Linked DNA regions of Homo sapiens: all the other regions are linked to region 1. The links are contacts of gene promoters, found by promoter capture Hi-C in human tissues and cell types (Jung and others, 2019). All regions are on one chromosome and are shown on one strand. Each heading gives the region's core, a stretch centred on a gene start or on the middle of the fragment in contact. The rest is flanking DNA. Distances are from core to core; before and after follow the strand shown.

Evidence for each region. The method cuts DNA at HindIII sites, captures the fragments that hold promoters and counts their contacts. A contact is called where the count stands out against the background at its distance.
Region 2: a fragment that was not itself captured here is called in contact with the fragment with the promoter of SEMA6A in region 1 in 1 of the 25 tissues and cell types used here (mesenchymal stem cells).
Region 3: a contact is called between a fragment that was not itself captured here and the fragment with the promoter of SEMA6A in region 1, in 1 of the 25 tissues and cell types used here (dorsolateral prefrontal cortex).
Region 4: a contact is called between a fragment that was not itself captured here and the fragment with the promoter of SEMA6A in region 1, in 2 of the 25 tissues and cell types used here (dorsolateral prefrontal cortex and heart left ventricle).
Region 5: a contact is called between a fragment that was not itself captured here and the fragment with the promoter of SEMA6A in region 1, in 1 of the 25 tissues and cell types used here (dorsolateral prefrontal cortex).
Region 6: a fragment that was not itself captured here is called in contact with the fragment with the promoter of SEMA6A in region 1 in 3 of the 25 tissues and cell types used here (dorsolateral prefrontal cortex, hippocampus and mesenchymal stem cells).
Region 7: a contact is called between a fragment that was not itself captured here and the fragment with the promoter of SEMA6A in region 1, in 2 of the 25 tissues and cell types used here (H1 embryonic stem cells and dorsolateral prefrontal cortex).

Annotation. Positions count from the first base shown.
Region 1 is chr5:116,573,519-116,576,177 of GRCh38, forward strand. It overlaps SEMA6A (semaphorin 6A), which reads right to left and starts at 1,305. Exons shown (of 19, transcript NM_020796.5): 1 at 667-1,305. SEMA6A-AS2 (SEMA6A antisense RNA 2) reads left to right here and starts at 900. Exons shown (of 3, transcript NR_147170.1): 1 at 900-1,021. RefSeq lists a silencer at 1,061-1,140. The HindIII fragment of the contact is 11,240 bases long and covers 1-2,659 here.
Region 2 is chr5:117,468,039-117,470,697 of GRCh38, forward strand. The region is part of intron 1 of LOC124900192; the gene reads left to right. All of the region lies in intron 2 of LINC00992 (long intergenic non-protein coding RNA 992), which reads left to right. Among named protein-coding and RNA genes, the nearest start is that of LINC00992, 54 kb to the left of the region's middle. The HindIII fragment of the contact is 3,131 bases long and covers 1-2,659 here.
Region 3 is chr5:117,421,160-117,423,818 of GRCh38, forward strand. All of the region lies in intron 1 of LINC00992 (long intergenic non-protein coding RNA 992), which reads left to right. Among named protein-coding and RNA genes, the nearest start is that of LINC00992, 7.0 kb to the left of the region's middle. The HindIII fragment of the contact is 6,055 bases long and covers 1-2,659 here.
Region 4 is chr5:117,274,114-117,276,772 of GRCh38, forward strand. All of the region lies in intron 2 of LOC105379138 (a long non-coding RNA gene), which reads left to right. Among named protein-coding and RNA genes, the nearest start is that of LINC00992, 140 kb to the right of the region's middle. The HindIII fragment of the contact is 5,193 bases long and covers 1-2,659 here.
Region 5 is chr5:117,243,874-117,246,532 of GRCh38, forward strand. No RefSeq gene overlaps it. Among named protein-coding and RNA genes, the nearest start is that of LINC00992, 170 kb to the right of the region's middle. The HindIII fragment of the contact is 4,418 bases long and covers 1-2,659 here.
Region 6 is chr5:117,188,340-117,190,998 of GRCh38, forward strand. No RefSeq gene overlaps it. Among named protein-coding and RNA genes, the nearest start is that of LINC00992, 230 kb to the right of the region's middle. RefSeq lists an enhancer at 892-1,393. The HindIII fragment of the contact is 3,333 bases long and covers 1-2,659 here.
Region 7 is chr5:117,164,554-117,167,212 of GRCh38, forward strand. No RefSeq gene overlaps it. Among named protein-coding and RNA genes, the nearest start is that of LINC00992, 250 kb to the right of the region's middle. The HindIII fragment of the contact is 4,589 bases long and covers 1-2,659 here.

The DNA.
Region 1 (2,659 bases), core at 55-2,554:
AAAGCCCGGAACCTCTGGTGGCAGCGGCCACAGGAGCCAGGATCTCACCGAGAGACAGGGCGCGCGGGTGCCTAGAGCCATTACAAGTTTCTTGCACTCCACGGAGCCCAGCCCAGACCCCACACTGACAACAAAAGATTCTCTCCGCTTCCACACCGTCTCCGCGGAACCCCTTCTCCCACCTGGCACTGGACGAAAACAGCGCTGTTATACCCAACCCCCTCCAGCCCTCGAGGGCAGAACCCCTTCCCCTGCCTTCGACACACCGGGCCAGGGAGCTTCCGAGAATCCCACCATTTAGGGCCCGCTCTGCTCCCTGCTGGGCACGCGGGAGGATGAGCCTTGGGTCTCGCACACACACCCCCAGGAGGAACAGCCATACGCGCCGTCGCGGCCCGGGGCGGCGCCGGGCGTGTGCGCAACGCGGGTGGGAAAGCTCTCGACGTGGAGCCGGACGCACTCTGGGGCGCAGGGCAGAGAGGAAAGGCAGGCAGGGCTCACGGCTGCTCCCCCAGGACCGGGCAAGGCTCGGGAAACAGAGACACAAGACAAAATAAAACGCAGGCACCACAAAGCCGACAGCACGCGCTAGCCACGGCCCCGGGACCCTCAGGCTGGAGTCCAGCTGCCCGGGAGGTGGGGCGCGCCCGGGCGCCCGGGGCGTACCTTTTCGGTGCATCGACGGACAGGCGGCCGGGGCTCGGAGCGAACTGGTACAGCGTGTATCCCATTTAGTAATCCATTATCGAGGGGATCTCTCCGGGCCGCGGGCTGCGCTCTCTCCTTCGCAAGCCTTTGTCATTCCTACATGTGTGCTTGTCTCTTTGGGGGAAATAGTCGCGGCGACTACTTTCTGGGATGCAAACGCGATGTGTTCATCTCCAATGACGAGCGGAGAAGGGGAGAGGAAAAAAGAAGCCAAAAAAAAAAAGAAGAAAAAGAAAAAGAAAACCAACAAGGAAGAGGGTAAATGTTCAAGAAACTCTTCTCCAAATCCAAATTCCACTTGGATTCCACTTCGGTGAGTCCCCTTGGTGGTGTCTGCGCCGATTAACAAGTCATTTCAGGGCGGGGGGCGGGGTGGGGGCTGGGGCAGGGGTGCAAGGCTCTGGCCCGGCTCTGCGGCCGGCAGCGCGGTGCCGCGGGTGTGGTGATGCTGGCCGCTGCTACACGCTGCTAAGCGGGCATCGCGGGCGACCGGCACCGCGGAGGAGCGCCGCTGCTGGGTTCCGAGCGCCTGGGCAGCCGAGTGCGCGGGGAGCGGAGTTGGCTGCAGCCTCACCCCGTGCCGCTCACTACTCCTCTGTCACCGGAGAGGCCGCCGCTCCCGGGCGGAGCCAAGTCCCGGACTGGATTGCGCAGATCGGACTCTCCTTCCGCAACTCCGCCTACTTTGGCTGGCGTCTCCTCCGACCCAAAGGAGAGCTGTGGTGTATGTGAGTGCGAGTGAGCGAGGCAGAGGCGGAGAAACTACGCGGTGTGGCTGCAGGTGGAGCCTTGGACCAACTGGCCAGCGCCGCTTCCTTCCACCAGGATTCCTGGCCCCACCGCGCGCTAGGCGGAGGCTCAGCGGGGGCGACTCTGGCTGGAGCCCAGCCCTCACCTCCCCCACCCCCACATCTGCTCTAGCTAGGAAAAAAAAAAAGAAAAAAAAAATCCCGGACAGCATTGCTGAGTCCTGCCAAATCAGAAAAATAAATAAAAATAGACGTAGTGCAGGAGCGAGTTACAAGAAAGGTTTTGTTCATCGATTTTCTTAAATGGAAAAGTTTTAAAGGATGAGGGTAAGTGAACGGCGAGCTTTTCTGATTCTGATTACTGTTATCAAGAGGTAGATTCCAGAAGCGATGGACGCTCTACGTAGTTAGATGAATTGGATAGAAGCCGGTGCGGTTAAAAATACACTTGGAAGATAAGAACACAGCTATTAATTACGCACATACACACGTTAATAAAGCATGTGAAGTAAGCAAATAAACTACAGTGCAGAGAATGGCGTTTTTAACGACGGCGATCTATTTTAAAACTTAATGAAGTTCACATTTTGTGGACTGGTCTTAGAAATAAGTAAACTTCAGAAATAACACGCATACAATTCCAGTGAGAACCCAAAAGGTTTATGGAAGAAGAAAATCGCAACCACTTCCAAGGCGCTATTGTTATGATCACATGAAGAATGGCAGGCACAGCCTTCTTTCACCACTTGAACTTTCAATAGCTACAAAGTCTTGCAGTTACAGGCTTGTGCCAACTCGTCGGGCCACACCACGTTCCCCTCCCCCTGCCGCTGCGCCCCGAAATCAACTGCGCGCCGCGGCTCTTGCTCCCCAAGGGGGCTTCGCAGATGGTACGGATCCTAGTCGCAACCTTTAAACAAAGTAACATCGGGCGGCCCAGCAGTTCTCGGAGAGATATTTACTAGTCATGGAGTTGGCTGAGAAAAGCAAGTGCGGAGATCGGGGTCTCAGTCCCACTTAGGCCGAGTTTCTTTATATTGGAAACTGTACCTGTTCCCTAATTGGGACTAAGACCACTAATAAGTCCACGTTCCCTCTTTGGTCGCTTCTCTAAGTACAGACATCTGCTTAAGAGGCTTCACGAAGAATAAATGCACATGGGTCAACACCCATTCCCCCCGCACCACTACCACCACCTGGAA
Region 2 (2,659 bases), core at 105-2,604, 890 kb after region 1:
CTTTAGAGAAGAAGAGCCTATAGCCTGAATCATTTCAGTGATTAACAATGTTCACTACCAAGACAGTTTTATTTGTTTTTAATCTAAGTTACTAAAAGTAGGTCTATTTCCTTTTGTCTTGTCTTCAGAAAAGATGGAAAACAGCAGGTTACCATCCTCTGCAGAGAAACCACTCATATATTTGAAGACCATCAATAAGCCATCCTCCTCCAGGCTAAACAATCTCTGTCCCTTTAGCCTCTAAAATTGCTCTTGTAGTCCAACATGTTAATCATCTTTGTAGCTCTTCTCTGAACATTATCCTACTCCTATAAGTTGTAGATTGCATAATGCTTTTCTAGGTGAGGATTCAGTACATTTTGTTTTGATTGATTACAAAAAAGAACATTTTTTTAATAGGCAATTTAGTAGAGCTTTACAGTCACATATTTTTCAGAACATTCCCTACTGAAAACTCTTCTATGTGCTCCAAATATGGTTAATATAATGAATTAAATGTGCAAGAGAGAATATCCTATGGCTACTTTTATTACAATTTAAGTATGTAAATTTAGCCACTTAATTATACATCAGAGTACTTTAAATGGATCACTATGACTGAACTCCAGCAACCCAAAATAGAGCCTGGCTGCATTGAGTTTAACTGCTATAATCAACCTGAATTTACAAATCCATAGAAATTTGGTATAATACATATAATGGAGAAAGATGATAAACTGACCCTGAATGGGTCATTATTTTAGAAATGATGTTGCACTATTGTGGTTCTAAACCTATCAATCCCATTTTCTTTTTAGTTGCCCCTGGTGACCAGTCATCTCCATTATGTAGCTATGGCTCGCAGGTAACCTATGGCCAAGAAAAGATAGTAACTATACACATGGAAGCTAATAGGGCCCCCATTTAGTACAGGGATTGTAACCATTAGAAATTCTCCTTTATATAAAGATATGTAACCCTTTTGGTTTTAACCTTTTCCTTTTACACTATTTATCCATACTAGTAGTAGACTAGAAAACTTAAATGCAAATAAATGCTGAAGAGAAGTTGAAATAATATTGAAATTTTTAGAAATTTTAGTCATTCCAAGGAGATGTTACTTGTATTATTTCTAGTCCTTCTCTATTCCTGATACAACATGGGTATTCTAAGCAGTAGATCCTTCTTTAGTGTTAATAGCATGCTCCAAATTATATGGAAAATATAAGGCCTCATCTTTCCACTGCCCATACTTGCCCCCAAGTACAGTGATATTATGAGTAAAGGCCAAGGATATGTATCTAAGAGTGAAAATTTAGGTTAATAAGGAAATTTGGATTTGTGTCTGTTGGATTGTGTGTGTTAGTGTATGTTCTTTTTTTAGGCCATCTTTTTGTACTTATTTTCTCCATTAGAATTGCATTAGCTGGGCTGCTACAACAAGCTAAGCCTGGGTATTTGTACTGCTAGGAAGAAAATGTGTGCCATCAACAGTTTAATTAGGCAACTGGATGGAAAAGAGGAAAAGAATCATTTCCCAGACCTCTTAGAAATGTTTTGTTGAGGGAAAAAGCAGTCAATATAGATATATTGATATACTAATAAAGATACAAATATACTTATTAATCCATCAATCAGTCTATCTATTTATCTATCTATTTTCTGAGCTATCACAAGGAATTGGTTTACATGATTGTGGGGAAGTAATTTGAATCCACAGGGCAAGAAGTCAGGAAGTGAAGATCACAAGCAGACTGAAACTCTGAAGCTTCATGATGAAGCTGTTGTCACAGGTAATGAGGAAGGGAAGGTTCTATAAAGGAAAAACAAAGTGTAGACCAAAAATATCAGAGCATGGCTAAGGACAGTGCCTAAGTCTTTTTAAAAAGGCTTCCACTGATTAGGTCAGGCTCATGAGGATAGACCCTGTACTTTATTTAATTACAATTTTAATTACATCAGCAAAATACCTTCACAGCCAGCACTTAAGTTAGCATTTGATTGAAAGACTGGAAGAAGATGTATGTATGCTACAAAATGGCTGCTGTAGTTCCTTCTGCCCTCATATTTTATGTTGCCAATTTGACACCTTAAAAAAGTCATCATAGACAGGTCTGGATGTTTTTCCCAGACATTTTTCTCAGTGGGCGTCTATCAGGGATTCCTCTGATCATTGCAGTTGTGAGAACAGAATTCAGAGGTCTGAATCGTGATCTTTTGCAGGCAAGTCTGTAGATCAAACTATTATACCTAGATGCTAAATTAAAAACAAAATGAAAAGCAAAAAATCCCTCAAAAATCGATGATGGCATAAAATTTGAGAACTAGAAGAAATCGTATACATTACTGTGCTTATTTTCTCATTGTTATAGTGCTAGTTAGTAACAGAGTCACATCGAATGGCCTAATCATATCATATCTTAATAACACTTAAAGACACTACTCCATGATAGTTACCTGTGGAAACCAAGGAAAAGGGAGGCTAAATAACTTCCCAAGTTACTGTTAGTAAGGGAGGTAGGATTCAACATAGATGGCCTAATTTCCAAGGCTGTTTTTAACCTGCGTGCTCTACTACATATCCCAGACTAGAATACACATATCACAACTGCTGGCCACATAGTGTATTTTTTTCTAGTAGTTTCTCATTTAGTATGGAAAAATCATCTCAAATTACTTT
Region 3 (2,659 bases), core at 61-2,560, 850 kb after region 1:
AAGGGATTCTCCTGCCTTGGCTTTCCAAATTGCTGGGATTACAAGTATGAGCCACTGCACCTGACCAGACATTATTTTTCTTTATGACTTAGTCTTAGCAGGCTTTGTATTTCCAGGAATTTGCACATTTTTTCTAGGTTATCTAATTTGCTTCTGTAATTGCTCTTGTATTTAACTGTAACAAAATATTTCTTTATTTTGCCTCATGTTTCTATTTAGTGTCCTTAATTTTTCCTTGGAGGAATCCTTTGAGTATTTCTTGCAGAGAAAGTCTACTGGTAATAAACACTCTGAGCTTTTGTTTATCTTGGAATATCTTAATTTCTCTCTCACTTTTGAAGAACACTTTTGTTGGATATAAGATTCTTAGTTCACAGTTTTTTTTTTTCTTTTAGCACTTTGAATATATTAGTTCACTACCTTCTAGTCTCCAAAGACTCTGATGAAAAATTTGCAGACAATCCAATTGAAGATCACTTGTATGTAATGAGTTACTTCCCTCTTGCTGATTCCTATATATTCTTTTTGTCTTTGGTTTTGAAAAATGTGCTTATAATGTGTCTTGGTATGGATCTATTTGAGTTCATCTTACTTGGAGTTCCTTGAGCTTCTTGGATGTTTGTATTTATGTATTTCATCAAACTTAGAAGTTTTAATTCTTCAGATACTGTCTCTTCCTCTTTCTCTATCTCTTCTCTTTTGGGGATTCACATAGTATGCATGTTAGTCCACTTGATGGTATTCCATTGGTCCCTCTGGTACTATTCACTTTTCTTCAAATATTTTTCTCTCTGTTCCTCAGACTCAGTAATTTGCATTTTCCTATTATTGTTTGCTGATCATTTTCTCTGTCCACTCAAATATGCCTTTGAATTCACCTAGTGAATTTGTTATGTCACGTTGTACTTTTCAGGTCTATAATTTTTTGTTTGCTTCTCTTTGAAATTTTTTTTGTTGTTAATATTTTTACTGTTGTTGGACTTCCTTCACATCTTTTCTTAGTTCTTTGAGCATCTTTAAGATAGGTGGTTTAAAGTCTTTGTCTAGTAGTTCTGCCATTAGGTCTTTCTCAGGGAGAGTTCTGTTGATAATTATTATTTGAAATTGTGATACCTTCCTGTTTCTTTGTATGCCTTCTTTTTTTATTTTAAAAAAACATTCGAATGTAATAATGTGATAACTTCTGAAATCAGATTTTCCCCCTTCTCCAACATTTTCTGTTTTAGGTTATTGTGTTTGTTTCTTCTTATTATTATAATTTTATAGGCTATTTCTGCATGAACAATTGACCTAAGGTATGGATATATAAAACATATACATAAAAACAGTAAATTATATTGATTGAATTATATTGTTGAATAATGAACCAACCTTGCACCCTTGAGATAGAACTCACTTGTTAATGATGTATTATGTCTTTTATGTATTGTTGGATTCAATACATAAAATTCAATTTGGAGCCAGCAGATGTCATCTCTCGTGTTAATATTTGGTTAGAAATTTCTGTGTCAATGTTCATGAATAATGTCCTTTGCAGGATCTGAACTTAGTTTAAACTACAATTAAAAAATGACCTAGAAACTGTTATTCATCTTATATTTCCTGAAAAAGTTAGTGTAAGACTGTGGAACCAGTTTAAGAATTATCAACAAAAAAATTTGATTTCAGATTGATATCTATCATGGTTTTGTGTTATTTTTTTCTGATCAGTTTTTATTAATTGTATTTTTTAAAGACTTCTGTACTTCATATACTCTGTCAAATTTATCAGTATAAATTATGCATAATACTCTTTATTAATGAATATGATCCAACTAACTTGCACCCTTCAATACTTGTATTTGGGAATTTGTCTTTTTTCTTTTGTGTGTGTGTTAAATCTTGTTAGTAGCCTGTTAATTTTATCAATTATTTAAAAGAATTTTTAGCTTTGTTAATAATCTTTCTAGTATGCATTTTACTTTTATTGCTTTTTGATCTTTTAATTATTACTTTATATTTACTTTGAGATTAATTTGTTCTATTTTCCTTGCTTATTCAGAGAAAACTTAGGCTTTTTTAAAATATTTTTTATTCTAAGCTTCTAAGCACTGTTTTAGCTGCATTCTCTATCATGTGATACCTGTATTTTTATAATTATTCAGTTTGAAATATTTTCTAATTTGCCATTAAATTTTTGTTTGAGTCATGAGCTTTTTAAAGAAGTACTATTCAAATTCTAAATATTTGGGATATTTCTAATAACTTTTTATTATTGGTTTCTCATTGAATTATGTTTTGGTCTAATGATAGTAATATTTCAGTCATTTAAAATGTATTAACGTTTATTTTTATGGCCTAGCATGTGGTATAACTTGGTGAACATTTCATGCACACTTGAGAAGAATATGTATTCTGTAGTTGTTGGATGCTGCATTTGATGAAAGTCAGTTAGGCCAAGGTGATTAATTTTGTGGTTCAAATAATAAATATCTCTATATTCTGTCTGTTTTTGAAATTTCCAGTGTGATTGTGGATTGGTCTCCCTCTTTGGTGTTATCAAATTTTGCTATATGTACAGTGAGGTATTAGCTTCAATTTTGAAAGACAGTTTATTGACTATGGAGTTTGACTTTTTAATTTGTTTATTTAGTTCTTTAAATATACTGTTTCATTGCCT
Region 4 (2,659 bases), core at 82-2,581, 700 kb after region 1:
GTGACAACAAAAAATGCTTGTCAAATGAACACTAAGAGGAAAATGAACTGAGATAAAGCCAAGACAAAGAGAGAAAGATACCTTTGAAAGAAAAATCAGATTTGTGCTCTTTCTAATCCACAGACAGCCAAGAAATGGAAGATTGTGCTTGTGTGTCTGAGAAGAGGGTATAATTCACAAGAATCTGGTTCTAGCATGCATTTGTATTATAGCATGTATCAAGACGCACACTTTCAATTTTTTTCTCTGCAAATGTTTGTAAGGCTGAGCATTTGTACCATAAGAAAATGTAGTCTGTTTTTCATTTTTCTTCTTGAGTTGTATTTAAATAGCATGTTCATATTTTATGACCTCTAATCGGAAGGGAATTTAAGCTACTTTGTCTATTCATATTATTCTGGGGCATTTTACACTCAGGGCTGCAAATTGTATACTTAAAATCTTTTATTGGAAAAGATGTCGTCCTTTGTTTATGAGTGCATCAATGATTATAGAAACAGGCAGCTCCATCCCAAAAGGAGTGTGCTGACCAGGATGTATAATTTGTCTCACATGCCCCAAATAGAGTCAAAACATTCATAATTTAAACCTGACTAGATGGAGTTCTCTAGCTGTATTCCATAACAGACCCTCAGAGAAAAGTTCTGAATATGCTCTCAAGTCCCATAACAACTTGAATGATGATTCCAATTATAGAGATGATGATTCTTATTATAGAGAAATGATGATTCTTATTATAGAGAATAAAAAGTTTTCAATAACCCCCCAAATTTCTTAAGAGACAACCCACAAATGCTTTCTTCATGATATACTATTCCAACAATGGAACGAAAGTTTGACTTTTTCATTGTCTTTTTCAATCATATCAGTATGAATATAATTTGGGTCGAAAATATATATTGACTTTAGATTGTGATATTTGTTTTGCTTTAAAAAACATATTGAACCCAATTCTCCCCATGTGTAAAAGACACCTACATCCAACTACAAGGGCAAAGGTATTATAAACATAAGGATATTTATACTCCAATTTCCCTTCCCTTATTTAAAACTCAATTTAGATTCTCCTAAAAAGCAGCAGAAAAGACTTTACAGCTTAGGTTTACAAAAATGTTTTTCTGTGTACTAAACTAAAGGAAAAATAGGTAAAATAAAATTATAAAACAACACTCAACTTTGATTAGAACATGCTTATTCAGTGACCATGTTTTACACACTATGTGAATGGAGAAAAACCAAGACCTTCGCATTCTACAAAGAGACTCATAGTTAGCTAGACTTAGAATGCAGATTTTATTACTCTCTCCAAGTGGGTCACCAAATTATTCCTTTTAATCACAAACAGTATGCTTCCAAGCTGACCTTACTTGTTACTTCTCTCTCAATCTCTCAGCAATTGAGTGATAGGCCTACCAAACTTCATCTGGTTGAAAGTTCTAAAATATGTTGGGGTTTGTGCCCTGTAGAAATGCAGAATTTTTAGATAAAAGACTTATCTGAATATGTAATGGAAGTGATGTATATACACACAAAACATTACATACGAATTCAGGGGGATTACTGACCCCTAAAACCTGGTCATAGATCCCATTTTGAGGTCCTCTGCTCTAGGGAACCCATGAGGAGTGTTTGTTTACTCTTAGCACAAAGCATCTCATATTGCAATTTTACTCAGAGAAGATGGCAACACTCAGCTTCATCCAGGTAACTCAATACGTTCTTTTACATTAAAAAAGAATGTCTGAGGAAGATGTTAAAACAAGTAAGTATTGTTTGGTTTTTAAACATCTGTCAATATACAAAAAAAAAAAGAAAAAAACAACTCAGTTTAGGAAAGTTTTTGTTGTTGTTGTTCTGTATGTTGTTGGTTCTGCAAAAAAGGAATAACTATAAATTCAGTGGATTATCAGGACATCACCTCCCTCAAGACAGCAGACTTACCAAGGGTCACAAAACAAACATGGAAACAAGCAAATGAACTGGCACTGTGAAAACCAAACATCTTTTATCTTGTCACTAAAATCTAGGTGATTCCTGGAGCACCTAATATGTAACTATGTATTAGTTACAAGTGAAATGCACAACTTCATGTTGAAATGTGGGGAAAGGTTTATTTTTTACTTCGATAACTGTGTCATTGGTTTTGTTAGAGTAGGTAGTTAGGCAGACATGAGCAGGGCAGAACCCTTCCTCCACTCACCACCATGATTATCAGGTGACCATAAGGTGATGGTAAGGTGGTTGTTAAACTGTCTCTCTCTAAAATAATAATTGGATGCAGCCAGCACCAGGGAAAGGCAATCTCCCAATAGATAAAAAACACCAGAAGCTGGTGATCAGCAGCTTTCCGATAAGGTCATAGGAGTTGGGCGAGTGGGCTCAGGCATGTGCACTAAGAGGAAAAATGGCAGTTTAACTGGTATATGACTTCCCTCTGGGAACACTTGACTAGTAAGGGAAATGGCTCAAATGAACATGTGCACAATTTCAGTAAACACACTGCGCATGCAGCCCCTCCCAAGGGTTGACAGGCCACTGTCCATGGGGACAGCCCACCCCAGGGGAAGAATTAGGGGAGAAGAGATGCAAGACCCCAGAAGCATGACAACATGTAAAACCCCAAACCAAAGTGAAACCATGTACTTGAATCTCCCAACTC
Region 5 (2,659 bases), core at 80-2,579, 670 kb after region 1:
CTAAGGTATTGTGTTCCACATGCCTCAGGGGCTCACTGGACCCAAAACTCTTGGTACTTTTGGTCTCAAGACTCCTAATTCTGCTTTCAGTAGCCCACATTTTGAAACAAACTCTTTGCTTCTCCTTCTTCCTTTGGGAGAAAAGCAACAGTGACAGTTGTAGTAGCAACAACAAATAGCTCTTTACAATACAAAATAGCAGCTACCATTTTGCAAAAATAGGCTAAAATATCTTTTACTTTTTCATGAAGAGCCTTTAACTGAGAAAATGAAACTCAAGTAGTAATTCAATTATTTATCCCAAGTCAATGCTGATTCATAATCCAACGAATCACAATTTCCAGTGACACAGAAATAGCAGTATGTCTGTCTAAGGTATATATATACTCTGTTGTCCAGAAGTAACTACAGTTGATTCTCATTATTCCTGCATTCTGTATTTGAGAATTCACTCACTTGCTAAAATGTATTTGTAACCCCAGAATCAATACTCCCACTGCTTTTGCCATTATTTGTGGACATGAGCAGGGTGGCAAAAAATTTGAGTTGCCTGACTCATATATTCTCAAGTTAGGGTCAAACAAGGTGACACTACCTCTTTGTTTTAGCTTTCATGGTGTAAACAAGTGTCCTTTTTAATGATCTATGTAATGACACATTTTTTGACGTTTCTTGGTTGGTGATTTCACTATTTAAAATGGTCTTCACACATAGTGCTGAAGTGCTGCCTAGTGTTTCTGAGCTCAAGAAAGCTCAAGATATGCCTTAGGGGGAAAATACATGTGGTAGATGAGCTTCATTGAGGCATGAATTATATTGCTGTTGACCATGAGTTCAATGCTAATGAATCAACAATATATATTAAATGAGGTGCCTATAAACAGAAACACACATAAAACAAGGTTATGCATTGATCAGATGACAAAAAACGTTACGATCAGAGGCTTGCAGGAACCTAACCATGTATTTCTGCTAGAAGCAGTGTTTTAGAACTTGCCGATTCAGTGAGGTGACTTTACAGATCACAACTACTGCAAATAAAAAGAACTGACTGTATAATTCTCTAACTAGAGAATGGATAAAATACATTATAAATATGGAAAGAGGTGATTATTTTTCCCTACTCTTTCAATTAGTAAAAAATCTAATTTGGAGCAAGGGAGTAAAAGAATGTGGACACACCTCTTTTGCAGCCAAATTTAACATCAGGACATAATTCAGAAAACAAGTGGTATAGCAAGCACTGTGCAAACTGTCAAAGATGAAGAACTGTATTAGAATTGGCAAGAAGACAAGGAGGAGGAGAAAGGTGGGGGACAGGAGGTGGAGGAAAAGTGGAGGGAAAGAGAGAAGAGAAAAAAAATACCTAAGAAAATGTAAGTGAAATAAATCAATGTAAAAAAACTAAAGATTGCCAAGCTGATGAAAATGGAAACTGTAGTGCGGCTGGCAAAAGGTCTTATAATGACTGTGCTGTTTAAAGCTTGTGTTTCATTCCATTTTAGAGCAATAAAAGTATGAGAAACAGAGTGTAGTCATAACAATTATATTTAGAGAAAGGAAATTGTCTTAAGATATGCTCTTTAAGTTACCCTTCCAGCTTTTTCCTCACCTCAAAATATTTCAAAGACTTATTTCAGAGAGGGGGCTTGATGCGGGTGAACGGGGCAGACTCAAGGAGCTGTGTTGTGTCTGGGCTTTGTAGGGAGGGAAGCAAGGCACTGCAAGAAAGAACTGAGAAGGCATACTGGAGAGAATGAAGAAGGAGATGGGGAGGAGTCAGTTTGCAAAACTGCTGTGACAACAGCTGCTTGGCATATGAATTCCATTATTTTGTGCATTCTTTTCTAAACCTTGCCACCTATAAGGGACTAGAATCTGCAGACCATTGGGAGCTTTCTATAGAAAAGCTATTCACAGGATCTGGAAGAAAATGAGATAATTTTGTATTTGGTAGTATTTTGATTGTTATAAACTGAAAAGTCCTGCTGTACTTCCTCCCACTCCTCCCCCAACACTGATCCTCCCTTTCAATCCAACTTTTATCCTATTATATAATTTTTACAAAGAAGCCATTGGAGTGTAAAAAGGACCTCTATAAGGGTGGTCTCCTTTCATAACTGAAGCACTGTACCCTTGAACTTAAATGGTTTCTATTAAGTTATATTTGCAATGTCTGCACCATATGAAATAAAGGGCCATTATGATTGTTCAGGTGTGTGAGGCTCTTACTTAAAGAAAGAGGAATTGGCATAATAACTTTTTCATTAATGGTCTTCATGTAGTAGGGTGAATGTAGAAAAGAGTGTTTTATGTTCAATGGACTCAGATTCTAAGGTAACATGAATTAAGGAGGAAAAAATGGCCTGAGGAATTTATACTCAAGATAAAATACAGAAAGGATGAGGAAACTTTTCTAGATTTTGGACTGATATATTTGTGGATTTGAGAAAGGATTTTCCTCTAGTGTGCAACAGCAGGCATTCAGAAGGCACAAAGCATAGTAAGAACCAGAAACATTTGCCATCAAAGAGAATCCAGAGTTTCCCATTGTTAGTTAGGGGTTTCAGACCTGGACTGTCTGCAGCAGGGGCAGGCATTTTAGCTGCCTCAGCCTCTTCACTCTTGGTTGATATGTATTGTCTCTGATCCCTCCCTT
Region 6 (2,659 bases), core at 48-2,547, 610 kb after region 1:
GGGATCAGAAAGAACATTTACATGAGTCATGCAAACTCTCACAGACGTGCTGAGATCTGAAGGCATTAAATGTAAGGAGAGAATACAACACAAGTTCTATAGCACAATTTTGGCATGACATTGATTATCATGCCACAGATTTGAACCTGCTGAGTGTGGGTTGAGCTAGTGAGACCTGTGTGGACAAGCATAAAATGCTGTATCTGCAGAGACAGTTGGATCCATCTGCTGAGTTTATTCATGTAATGACACAGATGTGAAAGTATATGACATTTTGTTCACCTAAAGTGCCAAATCCCCATTCTACTCTTGACAGATCCATGCAGCTTAAAGCTAAGGAACAACTTGAAAGGTCCTAAAGAATACCAGTCTTGAGGCTTCTCTTGGCAGTATTTTAGTCCACATTTCCCCCTGCCTGTAATTACACCTTTTCTTTTTCTTTTTTTCTCTTTTTTAACTTTTTTTTTTTTTTTAAACTAGTGCTGAATTCTCCCATTGGAGAGTTTCTGGCTCTGATTATAGGAGGTTCTCTCTACACAGAGTTGCTCAGCCTCACTCTGTACTGTTTGTCCTTGCAAGTCAGGGAGAACTCAAGCTTTTTATTTCTTCTTCTTCTTCTTTTTCTTCTTCTTCTTCTTATTACCATTATTATTATTGTTATTATTTTGGTTTCTTGTCGGCAAAGATGTTTCTGTGTTGGGGATGAAAGTAATTTTACTTCTTCTAAATGGATGTCAGTATATGTTCATAATTAGCCCAATCACAAGGCATGCCTGGAGAGGAAAACAGCACACAGATATTTGATAGTGTATAAGTACATAATTTGGATTACCTGGAAAAGAATGAGAACAAGTACTTTAAGAGCCAGAACAAAAGTCTACTCTTTAGGTTTCCTCTAGTGTTATTGAAAAAAATGTTTAGTTTATATCCATGTTATTGGAAGGGTAAGTCATGGAATGTCCTCACAACATTCCTCACTTCCAAGCAGGAGCAATGTGTTGGGTGCTGAGGAATCTTCCCCTCTGTGGTACAGCCACCTTTGCCTTTCAATCACCTCCTGTGGTTCCTCTACCATTAATTCAAGCTTTTTAGCTCCTTTGAACAGAATTGCCCTCCACATGTGCTCAGCTCTCTCCTTTGGATTGCAGGTCTCTGGAAGTCTCCAGGCTCCTGAACTTACCCGCCTGCATCAGAACTGATGCACCTCACAGTGCTCCTGGTGCTGCTTCTCTGAGCTTGACAGAAACAGTGCCCTCTGGGGCATATTACAGCAATTCAACTGGACAAGTAGAGAAAAATAAATACCACTTAAGGAGTAGTAAAAAAAAAAAAAAAAAAATGGCTTTCAGTCTTTTTGGAGCTGTATGTTGGAGGAAAAGGATTTATTTTGGGGGCAATCAGGCATGGAGATGGGCTAGAGGTGGAGCAAACAGTGGGTGAGCCTAGACTTGCTTGGCCAACGTTGCTCAGCACACAAGAGAAACAAAGCTGGCTTTGAGAGAAGGTTCGAATCTGTGGATAACATCTTTCTTATTGTTGAAAAGTCATTTCTAGAATGCCAGATTGTCACAAATAGCACTGCAGAAACAGTGGACCTAGGTTGTAAGTACTTTTTAGCCTTCACATCTTCAGTTTGGACAGCTCCTTTCTCTGGCTCAGGAGGAGAAGGCGATGGAATCAAGCCTGCCAAGACAATAAAAGCTTTTCAAGACCATGATCTGTTAGATAAACAATTTTCCTTCTATTCCCCATCCTATAAATGCTGCTCTGACTCTGACTTATTATTGCGTGTATCTAAGAATATAAAATCTTCTATTAATCACAAAGTACTGGAACCTATTCATTTAATTGAACACCCCTTCTCACCCCCAGTACAACTATGTAAAGTAGCAACGTAATGGAAAGAACACAGAACTGAGAAAGATAAGCAGTACTATAGCATTTGTTGCAATCAGTCAGTGAATATTACATTTGCCTTTTAACTCAACATGCACTTTAGATTTAAACTTCTACAAAACTTAGTAGAAGGGCTAATATTTAAAATTTTATTCAAGATGATTCATTGCATTTTTTTAACTTTTGAAGTCTAAGAAAGACCATAATTTTCTGTTCCTAGGTTGTTCCAGCACACTTAGAGAGAGAGAGAGGGAGAGGGAGAGGGAGAGAGAGAATATGTGCAAAATAAAGAATTACTGTATCTGGCATACATCAACATGAAACTTTCCCTTTAGGATTCTCCCTGCATTTGCATAGACACAGTTTATTGAAGTTGCTTTAAAATTATAAGAAGGCAAGTGAATAAAGCCTGTTTGTATAAGGAATGTCGTGTACCACTTTGAGTTGTGATGATCACCTCTTTCACCCATTTTTTATCATCATCCCAAAATGAAGCAATAAAATTGAATTTCTTTAGACTGTGAAGCATTTATACTAGTATTGCTTATAGAAAATGAATACTGATGATGTATAATGTTCAACTTAATCAGGATTAATATGCTGTCTCAAATGATTAAAAGGCAAAAGATGAGCTCAGTTCATTTTAGGTTTGGAGTATTTTAGTCCATATTTTAAAAGTAAGTTGAGTACAGGGCTCGTTTTTTTTGTTTTGTTTTTTAATATACAAAAAGTTCTGGGCTTTTGAAAACTCTGTATATTTAAG
Region 7 (2,659 bases), core at 77-2,576, 590 kb after region 1:
ATGCTTTGGCTAGAGTATGGAGTTTTTTATGGCTTTCTCATTTTGATGGAGTATAACGATAAGAAAGGTGAACACGAAAGAAGGGGTCTATCCCTTTTAATCTGTAAGAATGTAACTTCAAGATCAAAGGAGAGAATGGTACAGACTAAAAATTTCTTTCAAATGAGAGGAGTATAAAATGCATATGAATAAATTCATAGATCATCATATAGAGTTTCCAAATAATTCTTGAAGCAGTTTGCAATTTCCCTGGTTATCTGCAATGATGTGGAATTCAAAATCCTATGTCCCTTACTTTAATATTTATAAGAAATATGTATGGAAGAAGCTTGAAAATACAGGCTGAGAATTGAATCACCAATATTTTCAGACACACATTAAGATTTGAATTAACTGCCTTCCAAATTTACTTGTGATAGAAAATTCTGAGCTGATAGGTATTTCTAAGTTGCTAAAATAACTGTACAGGCAATAAACTTTAGCATTGTTTCCCCTACAGGAAAAATATGCTGAACAGGTTTGATAAAATTTTGTATTGAGAAATAGGGAAGCAGTGGGTCAGGTGGGGAGAAAAAGGGGAAAGGGATGCTGAAGGGAAGAGAGAATTAACACACAGCAGAAGCACTGAAGCTTTAACTTAAATACAAATGATTTTCAGACTGTGTTCTAGAATACAAGGGTGATAGTCATAATTGCCCAGCTGTTTGTTTGGAGAGTTCAGCAGCTGCACATAAGTGACTACATAGATACAGGGTTTTTTGTCTTTTTTTCAATTCTGTGTCACTCTTGGTGGTGGGAGATTTTTGTTTGTTTCTTTTTTTGAGATGGAGTCTCACTCTGTTGTGAGGATGTAGTGCAGTGCTGCGATCTCAGCTCACCGCAACCTCCGCCTCTCGGGTTCAAGTGATTCTCCTGCCCCAGCCTCCTGTGTAGCTGAGATCACAGAAGAGTGCCACCATGCCCAGCTAATGTTTGTATTTTTAGGAGAGATAGGGTTTCACCAGGTTGGCCAGGATGGTCTCAGTCTCTTGACTTGGCCTCCCAAAGTGCTGGGATTACAGGCGTGAGCCACCGTGCCTGCCCTGGGGGATATTATTTTATTCGTGAATGAAGGGAGAAAAAACAATGTTTTTCTCAGAGATTTAGACAAAGCAAAGAAGCAAGAGAATTCAACTCCATCTTATCATCATTTTGTTGAAATATTGATTCAAAAAGCAATTGATTATACTTGCTTCATTAAGAACATTTAGAATATCCCAGAATATGATGTTTTTAGTTGCCTTGAGACATGTAGATTTGGAAAAAAATGTATTTATTTATGAGTACTTTTTCTTCCTGCAGTGAAATAATGAAATAATAAAAATGTAGTCAGATCTGTTTCTTTATTTAAGGCAATCAGTGCTTTATTTCCTATAACCCACAAAGTATTAAAAATTAAGTTATGAATGGGGAGTTGCTTTAATTAAAAAGGAGAATTCAATAGAAATCGCAAAATAACCCTCTTCTCTGAATTTTGGAACTCCATGGCAAACACTTACTATTGGCTAAATGTTACATGAAAGTATAGTAATTAATGTAGAGGCCTGCTCTGTGGCAGATTTTAACATTTCAATTGCCTGAAGATTAGAAGCCTTTATGTTACCATCCAGTTACATTCTGATGTTCTTTCTCACTTGAAAGTTTCTGGATTTACTCCCTTACAATTAAAAAAAAAAAAAATCTTTGGTTAGAACCTGCAATCTAATTTTCTTTCTTTGAATAGCTTTCTATATGTAACTACTAATTTTATACCAACTTAGAATTATTTCTGTCTGTTCTTTTCTTTTCCTCAACTTGCATATAGCTTTGTTTTCACTGATTGTTGAAAGTTATTTTATTACTTAAAAAATAATTTTGGCTGCTTCCACTTTTTTTTCTATTAAAACTATGAATATTTTGGCAAATAAACTAATGGCAGATAACTGTTGAACCCTACTGTGTGTTGGGGATGTTGTTATGTGTTTTAGTTGGAATTATCCCCATTAATTCTCCAACCAGCCTTGGTAGTTTTTATTATGATTTATCCCCATTTTAAAATGAGAAGATTGAGGAGTGGTGATGCTAATTTGAATAAGTCATAGAGTTGGAAGATTGCACAGGTAGGACTCAGATTCTTGTCTTCCCTTCCCTTGGTCAATCTCTGATGTTGGTGTGCCCTATGAATAAGCTCTGTTCAACTTGCCCTGCTTTGTTGGTAATCATGCTCTTGTTTCTTGCTCTAAATAATTATGCGATTCTAAAATTCATTTCTCTAGACCTGACCTCTCCTGAAACTCTAACATAATATATGCATTTGCCTGGTTAGTATCCCTACTTGGATATGAAATAGACATGTCAAACATAACAGGTCAAAACAGAAGTACTGTTTACTAATAAATACCTCATACCGCACAATGAGCTCTGGGTCTTTCCTGTGTAGTCAATATCACACTCTTCCTCCCACTTGCTCAAATAAAAATTATTGAGCTTTTAAAAAAATCATTTTTTAGTCTCATCCCCATATCTAATTAATTAGCAAGCACTATAAATTTTACTCATATATTATATGTAAATGCCCCTCACTTTTCTCCATACCTTGTGTTACTACCCTAGTCCAAGATTTCACACAGTCTAGAGCAAG